Regions from separate parts of the Homo sapiens genome. Here region 2 is linked to region 1. The links are contacts of gene promoters, found by promoter capture Hi-C in blood cells and fetal thymus (Javierre and others, 2016). All regions are on one chromosome and are shown on one strand. The core of a region is centred on a gene start or on the middle of the fragment in contact, and the rest is flanking DNA. Distances in the headings are between cores, read along the strand shown. Region 1 holds the start of C9orf78 (chromosome 9 open reading frame 78). Region 2 holds the start of NCS1 (neuronal calcium sensor 1).

The links. Contacts are between HindIII fragments. The CHiCAGO score rates a contact against its expected background, and 5 or more counts as called.
Region 2: a contact is called between the fragment with the promoter of NCS1 here and the fragment with the promoter of C9orf78 in region 1, in 1 of 17 cell types (M1 macrophages). The highest score is 5.4, in M1 macrophages.

What each region holds. Positions count from the first base shown.
Region 1 is chr9:129,833,664-129,837,334 of GRCh38, reverse strand. C9orf78 (chromosome 9 open reading frame 78) reads left to right here and starts at 2,060. Exons shown (of 9, transcript NM_016520.3): 1 at 2,060-2,196; 2 at 2,569-2,628; 3 at 3,626-3,671. The coding sequence starts at 2,114. It overlaps USP20 (ubiquitin specific peptidase 20), which reads right to left and starts at 1,877. Exons shown (of 26, transcript NM_001110303.4): 1 at 1,836-1,877. RefSeq lists an enhancer at 1,127-1,627 and silencers at 1,599-1,748, 1,779-2,128. The HindIII fragment of the contact is 4,419 bases long and covers 1-3,671 here.
Region 2 is chr9:130,170,838-130,174,508 of GRCh38, reverse strand. NCS1 (neuronal calcium sensor 1) reads right to left here and starts at 2,105. Exons shown (of 8, transcript NM_014286.4): 1 at 1,782-2,105. The coding sequence starts at 1,845. RefSeq lists enhancers at 1-741, 2,203-2,991 and a silencer at 2,039-2,128. The HindIII fragment of the contact is 9,600 bases long and covers 1-3,671 here.

The DNA of each region.
Region 1 (3,671 bases), core at 811-3,310:
CATTTTCTTAAAACAACTGAACTCCCAAACAAGACTAAGACCTTGGATTCATCTTTGAACTGCATAGAACCTGTATTTCTCGGAGGGTCCTTTTGAGAGACAGTCTCATCCTACGCTTAAAAGGGCCCAGTGAGACTTGGGCTGCAGTCTCTTGGCAAAGCCACTTACTGCCAGATTCATAGCTGCCACTTTTTCAGCATTCCTTTTGCTAAAGAGCACTCAATTAGATCTGCCACAGCACAGGTGGTGGTTATCACTGGGTCCTCTGGCCTCATGGAGCAAGGGTGGGAGCAGCTCATCTGTACCCTGGGACTTCAGCTGAGGAGGAGGGTCCAGAAATGCCCCTGGCCTTCTTGCCCTTTCCTTAGTAGTGTCCAGTACCCCCTGGTGGATGGGCTGCTTGATGGGCAGATTCAGAGCCACCTCTGAGAGCGTGAGAGCTGCAGACGTTGACCCCCTGGACTCCTGCAGCAATTCCCAAGGAGCCTCTCCATCATCTGACAGGGACTCCGTATCCAGTGAGTGCACGTGCATCTGGGTTTGGCTGAACCAGTCTGCAGAGGGCAAGACTTTGAGACTTTAATATATGGCTTTTGACCAAAGATAAAACGCTGGTGCAAGAAGTCCCGAGTCTACTATTTTTTCCAGCCCAAGGAAGAGAAGAACAATCTCAGTGGAGACTGTTCCAGAGAAAACGTAAGGCATTCTAGAAATGCTGCCCTGCTTCGGAATGGTCTTCCAGAAAGGGGAACCCCAGACAGCCCCCATCGGCCCCTCCCCCTAGCCAATGAGATGTAACAGCAGCTGCAGCAGCAGCAAACATCTACTGCACTCCTACCGTGCCAGGCCCTGTGCAAACCGTGCGGCAGAGACTGACCTGCAACCAATTCCTGTTCCACCTCCTAGCTGGGTAACTTGAGGCGTGCACTGCCCCTCGGAGACTCCGCATTCTCATTTGTAAAACGAAAAACAATCTACCTCAAAGGATTGCTGGGAGAATTCAATGAGATGATGCTTTGCCCAGGGCCTGCCACATAGTAACTGCTTAATAAGAGGTAGTTCTCAAAGTAAGGGATGACACTGAGAAAAGGAAAACTACTGTTACTTAAGGGGTTCTTAAAAGTCCTAGAAGCCATTATTTATGCATTTAGGTATTTCCTAAGCGTTTGCTGATACCAGTTTTTCAAATAAACTTTATCCTCACAGCATCTTCGGGGTGGAAGGGGCAGAGGGTAGAGCGACAGACCTGCCGAAGGAGGAAAACCAGACCCGTGAAGGTCCAGGGGGGTGGCCGGCAAGCACCGAGGAGGAGTCCCCCGGCTCAAACCCTCTTGCGTGGCTTCAAAACATCAGACGCGCCTCTCCTCGCGGAGAAGCTGGGGGCCATTATTTGTGAGGCAGTCGGCGCTGGGACTCTAAGTCAGCACCGCAGAGAAGTGGTCATCTTTTGTTCCGAAAGAAAAAAACGCACGTCAGGGCTCAGAGCCCGAGGAAAGAAAAGTCAGCGCCCGAGACGCGAGACGCCACGCGGATGCTTTCAACGCTAGGTCAGGCCCCGGCAGAAATGAGAGGGGGGCGGCCCCGGTTCTGGAGAAGCCACGAGCCCCCAGGGAGCTCAGAGTGGGGTGGTGCTGGGGCCCAGAGGCCCCCCTGGGCGCCGACCGGAGGAGGGGAGAGGGGCGGCGGCGGCCGGGGGGGTCCCGGGCTCCGCTCACCGGGCCGCTGCGTCTGGCGTACCTGGCGAAGCCAGGCCCTGTCAGCCCGGAGCCGGGCTGGGGTCGCCAATGCTCAGAGGCCCGGCCCACAGAAGCAGCCGGTGGCGGCCCGGAACTCACCTGCACTCGCAACTGCGCCGCCGCCGCCTGTCAGTCAAGCGCGCCCCCTCTGAGGCGACGCGCAGGGTTGTGGGGCCGTCTGGCGACGCCCCACCTCCTTCCCTCTGCCGTCCAATCGGAAGAGGCTGACGCCAGGAGAGGGGGCGTGGCCACGCGGACTGTGCGTGCCGGGGGCGGGGCCAGACGGGGCAGGCGCTCTGACCGCTCTGCCGCGCGCCGGAAGCAGCCTGGGCCGCTGCGCAGAGGCGCGGCGGCTGTACAACTCGGCCGTTGTCACCATGCCGGTCGTCCGGAAGATTTTCCGTCGCCGCCGGGGCGACTCGGAGTCAGAGGAAGATGAGCAGGACTCAGAGGAGGTTCGGTGCGTTTGGGGCGGGGCTCCCATAGGCTTGGTAAAGATAGACTTGTTTGGGGGACTCACCACCGGCTCGGCGCTTCGCTGACATTGTTAACTGTGAGCTCGGGTGGTGGTTCCTTCTGCGGACGCAGAAATTGAGGCTCAAGGGGTGAGGCCACCGCCCCAAGCTCGAACGGTTGAGAGAGATGCCTCCGGGATGCGCAGTGGCTCTGACTCCCGGTGGGTCTAGGCACAAGGTCGTCCTCTGGACCACTGTGCTGGTGGCTCAGTAGCTGGGCTGGGATGCCCTCGAAGGTGCCTTATTGGCTCTGTTAGCTTTGGATTCCGCGGGGAATCACTCAGCTTATGCATTGCTGCTTCTTCTTCTTTTTAAAGATTAAAACTGGAAGAGACCAGAGAGGTACAGAACTTGAGGAAGAGGCCCAACGGGGTGAGGTGGGTACCACGCGGGGAGGAGGAGGAGGCGGCGGGGACGACAGACACATCCGCGTCCGGGTCGCTGTCACAAATATCTCCTCAGACGTAGATTTTTCTCTTGACACACTGTACACCTTCCACTGCCCAACTTGGAGAACAGCGTTCTTTGCAAATGTTTAACCAGGACATGCCCTGAGCTGTGTCGTCTCGGGGTGTGCTCCAGAGATACAGAAACAGATCACTAACTCGCGTTTTTTATTAAAACCAATTAATTGTGAAATGCATATCGATCGTTAAGAGTTTGTATAATTTAGAAAAGTATAGTCAAGACGATAAAAAGCACCCATAATTCTCCCATCCGGAAATGATCAGTGTTAACATTTTTTTTCCTTGCAGAGCCACCCAAGAATGCACTGGTATTAATATTGAATACTCTTTCCAATCTGTTTTTTTTCGTCTCTCTCTCTCAGATTGTGAACAACTTTCTATGTACTTTTATTCCCTGTTCTTTTCAACTCATTATGACATTGTGGGCATTCACCCATATTGTGGAATATTTTTCAGAAAGCCTTAATGGCTGCATAATATTCCACCAGATGTGTGTATTGTAATTTGTTAACAAATCCCCTATTTTGGGACATGTAGGTGATTTTGTAAATTTTTACTATCAAATAAGGCTGCAGTGGATATTCTCTTAAATTTATCTTTAGCTGCACTTTCCATGATGAGAATATCTTAGAAATGAGATTTCCAGGCCAAGATAATGCCAAATGGCTTTACAGGAAAGTGGCAAAGTGTACCACTTCACCACCAGCGCACCCTTCTTCCAGCATCTGCGGTGCTCGTTGAGCCCTGTCTTATGCTTATAGGCTTTTCCAGCCGGCTTGCCTACCCACCCCTCAAATCCCACCCTTGCACTAATGTTGCAATCCGCATACCTGAGAGGGTTCCTCCTTATCTCTGAATTATGCCATTTCTCTCTCTCCCCCTCTCTTTTTTTTTTGGTTTTGCTCAGTGCTGTGGCCTTGCTGGTGGGAGAGAAGGTACAAGAGGAGACCACT
Region 2 (3,671 bases), core at 856-3,355, 340 kb before region 1:
GGAGCAGGACAGACCGGAGTTCAAGTCCTGGCACTGCCTGGTCACTAGCTGTGGGATCATGGGAATGCCACTTTGCCCCTCTGAGCCTTAGTTTCCCCATCTGTAAATGGAGATCGTAGCAGCACCCAGCCTGGTAGAGCAGTTGTGGCAGAGTCGAGGTGCTAATGATGCCAAGAGCTTGGCACGTGACATGCTCGATGAGCAGGAAACCTGGCTTCACTCCCCTGTCCCACCATGATGGAGGCATCCCGTGCAGCCCATGCCCACCACTCCTGATGGAGCCCACGGTGTCCTCACCCTCCCCCGGCACAGGGACCCAGGAAGTCCACCTGCTGGCGGCTGTGGGCCACATCTGGACTTAGCTTGAAGGAGTCCCCAGCGAATCTCACAAAACAGCAGCCAGACTGGAATGGGCCACCCACCTGCCCACCTTGGAGAGAGGGTGAGAACAGCCCCTGTGCCCAGGGGCTTCACCCCTTCCAGGTAGCAGCTCTTGGGATGTGAGCTCCATGCTGCAGGATTCCACAGGAGAAGGGCCAGCACCTCGCAGCAGACTAGCACCCGCTCAGGAAAGCCCCCTTTGTTCCAAGCATGAGGGGTGAGGGGCATGGAGCTGAAGCGTGGGCTTGGACAGACCTGCAGACGTGCCCAGAAGGCCGATGGAGTGGGGGGAAGCGGGGAGCAGAGGTTGTGCAATGCACCACCAGGAGCTGCCTCCCCAGCCTCCATCAACACATGGGGCTGGCGGTCAAGCTGCTGCCTCCAGGGGTGGTGCAGAGGGCCTGGGCCCACGCAGCTGCCCGGGGATGGGTTCTGAATTCCAACCCAAGCCCAGAACCACTGTCCCCTTCCAAGTCAAACACCCAGGCAGAGGTCCTTCCAGACCCCGATGCTGAAGCCTTCCCTCTGGCAATCCCCTGGGTGGTCTGGACCCATTACCATTAACCCCTGGTATGCCAGGGCACCTCCGGAGAGGCTGCAGGGAAGGGGGAAGCCTGGTATGGAGAAACTAGGACTGCAAGGGGACTGCAGAGTTGTGAAGTTAGGCAAGTGGAGGGAGACACACTGAGGCTGATCTGGAGACGCCCAGAAAGGACAGGCCATCCTCCTCCGGGCAGCCCGCGACAGCTAATGATCACACGCGGCCCAGATGACCCGGGCTGTAGAAACCCACTTCCCGGTGTGGCAGACAGAGATGGGGCCAGGGAGAATCCAGCCTGTAAGTGCTGCAACCCACAGGGTGCCGGGGACCCTTCACCGCCGTCACCGCACGACGAGCGCTGTGCCAAGTCTCGCCACCCCCCCCCCCACACGAACGGGGCCAGGGAGGGGGCGACAGGCCAATCTCGCAGCAGCGGCGGCGGCGGCATCGTGATGCATGAATCACCAGCCCCGCGCGCTCGTGCCAGTCGGCTCCGCGCAGCCGGGCGCCCCCTCCCGGGACCACCGCCCCACCCTGGCAACAGCCCCTGCCCGTTGGGACAGCTCTGCGGAGAGGGGGCCGCCAGGGGGCTGGGGCTGCCCCTCCGGACCTAGGGGTGGCGCCGCGCACGCCGACCGGCGCGCACTCCCCGGGCTGGGGGTGCCAGAACAATGGGGCCGGGCGGGGGGCAGGGGCGCGGCCCGGGAACCTCCGAGGGGTCCACATTGGAGGCCGGGCGGGGAGGACGGAGCGGAGGCGGCAGCGCGGAGCGGGTAGCGCGCGGGTCCGGGGGGCGGGGGCGGGGGCGGTGGGTGTGGGGGTGACCGCGGGGCGCGGGCTGGGGGCTGGGAGCACTCACAGTAGGTCTTCCTGGTCAGCTCCTCCACAACTTCGGGCTTCAACTTGCTGTTGGATTTCCCCATCCTCGGCGGCCGCGGCCCCCGCCCCCCCGGGCCGGACCCGGTTGGGGCGCCCAGCAGGAGCGGCTGGGCCGGGCGGGCCGGGCCGGGGCCGCGCCTTTGTCTGCGGCGCCCGCGCTGCGCTGCGCGGCTGTCGGCGCCGGGGCGCCCGGGGCGTGGGGCGGCCGCTGGGCAGGCCCGGGCGGTCCGGGCGCCGCGGCGCGGGGCTGCCTGGGCTGGGCGCCGGCGCCGGCGCGGTGTGGCCGCGGTCGTCCCTGGTTACTGGGCTCCGCGGCACATGCTCGCTGCTGCCTCCCGCCTGCCGCCGCCCCTGCGCTCCCCGCCTCCCGCCTCCCCCCTCCCGCCCGCACCCGCGCGCCAGGGGTGGACCCGGAGCCGCCACTCAGCGCCCGGCGCCACCTCCCGCCCCGCACCCGCCTGGCCGCGGCCTCCGCCAGCTGGACCCCGGCCTCGCCAGCCAGCCGGAGGGGCGTCCCCTCGGCTCAACGCGGCCCCAGGGCGGGGCAGCCACCCCCGCCACCCCCTCCCCGAATCCAGCCCTGGCGCTCCGGCCCCCGCCGCGGCGGGGAGGGCCCGGAAGATCGGATGTGAATGAGGCCAGGTCCCGGCCCGGAGACATTCATTCATTCGACACGGATTCATGGGGTGCCGGGGACACGGCGGCCCACGGGACAGGAGTGCCCCAGCCCTCGCAGGGCGGGCAGGGGGCTGTGCGGGATGCGGCAGGTAGCGGTGGGAGCACCTACTCTCGGCCTGGGGGCAGGAGACCTCCAAACCCAGGGTCAGGAAGGGAGGTGGATGGAGAAGCGTTCTGGCCCAGGCAACCTGGAGAGGCGGGGAGGCCTGCATGCCCGAGGGAGAGTTCCCCGGCTTGCGGGCTTGCGCACGGCTGCAGGCACAGGGGACCTGGGAGAAGGGCAGGGCCCACGGGGCAGGCCAGGAGAGGCCCCTCGCCGAGGAGCTGGGCCCCTGCCCACCAGCGCCCATGAAAGGACTTCAGCAGAGAGTGATGGGTCAGAGCTGCTGGAGTGACAGGTCAGAGCTGCTCAGAGCTGTTTCTCTGAGCCGAGGCTGGGGTGACAGGCTCCACCTGAATGGACAGAGGCCAGTGGATTCGCGTAGGGGGGTGTGGTTCAGGTGGTAGGTCCAGCATGGCCTTCCCGGTCCACCTCATCCAACATATCATCATATCTTGAGAACTCTCCTATCCTTTTCGGCTTTAGTTTCTCTCCTTCACATCCATCACAAACGTCACCTATGTTTTCTGCATCCTGTTTGTCTCTTCCATGGGAGAACACCCTCCCAGAGGGCAGAGGCATCTCCATAACCCAGAAGGCCGCCTGAGGTGTTACCCAGCAAATCTCTGTGAATGAGCGAAGGACGGAGGAAAGAATGACACCCGGTGCTGGGGCCCTGGGGTAGGGGAGAGAGCGGGGAGGATGAGGCAGCCCTCCCCGGGGCTAGCAGGGATGAGGCAGGAGTGGGGTCTCTTTCTCCCTTCTTTCCACAGTGTTCTAACCTCGGAGGGTCCAGAAAGCTCAGAGGAACCCTGAGCAGGGCCGAGTGCCTTCCAGCTCCCAAATATCTCTCCTGCCTCTAAGCATACTCCATCCACTCCTGCTTTCCCCTGAAGCCCCTGCCCAGGCTGAGCCCCAGGCCCCAGGAAGTCTTCAGATGGGGATGGACTTGCTGGCTTGGGGAGCTCATTCTGCAGAGGAGGTGGGCCCAGTTGGAGGGATCTGGTGTAGACCTGGGAGCAGAATGTCCCAACCTTGAGGACCAACTCAGAGTGGACAGCAGTGAGGGGCCCACAGTGGGGGGCTAACAGT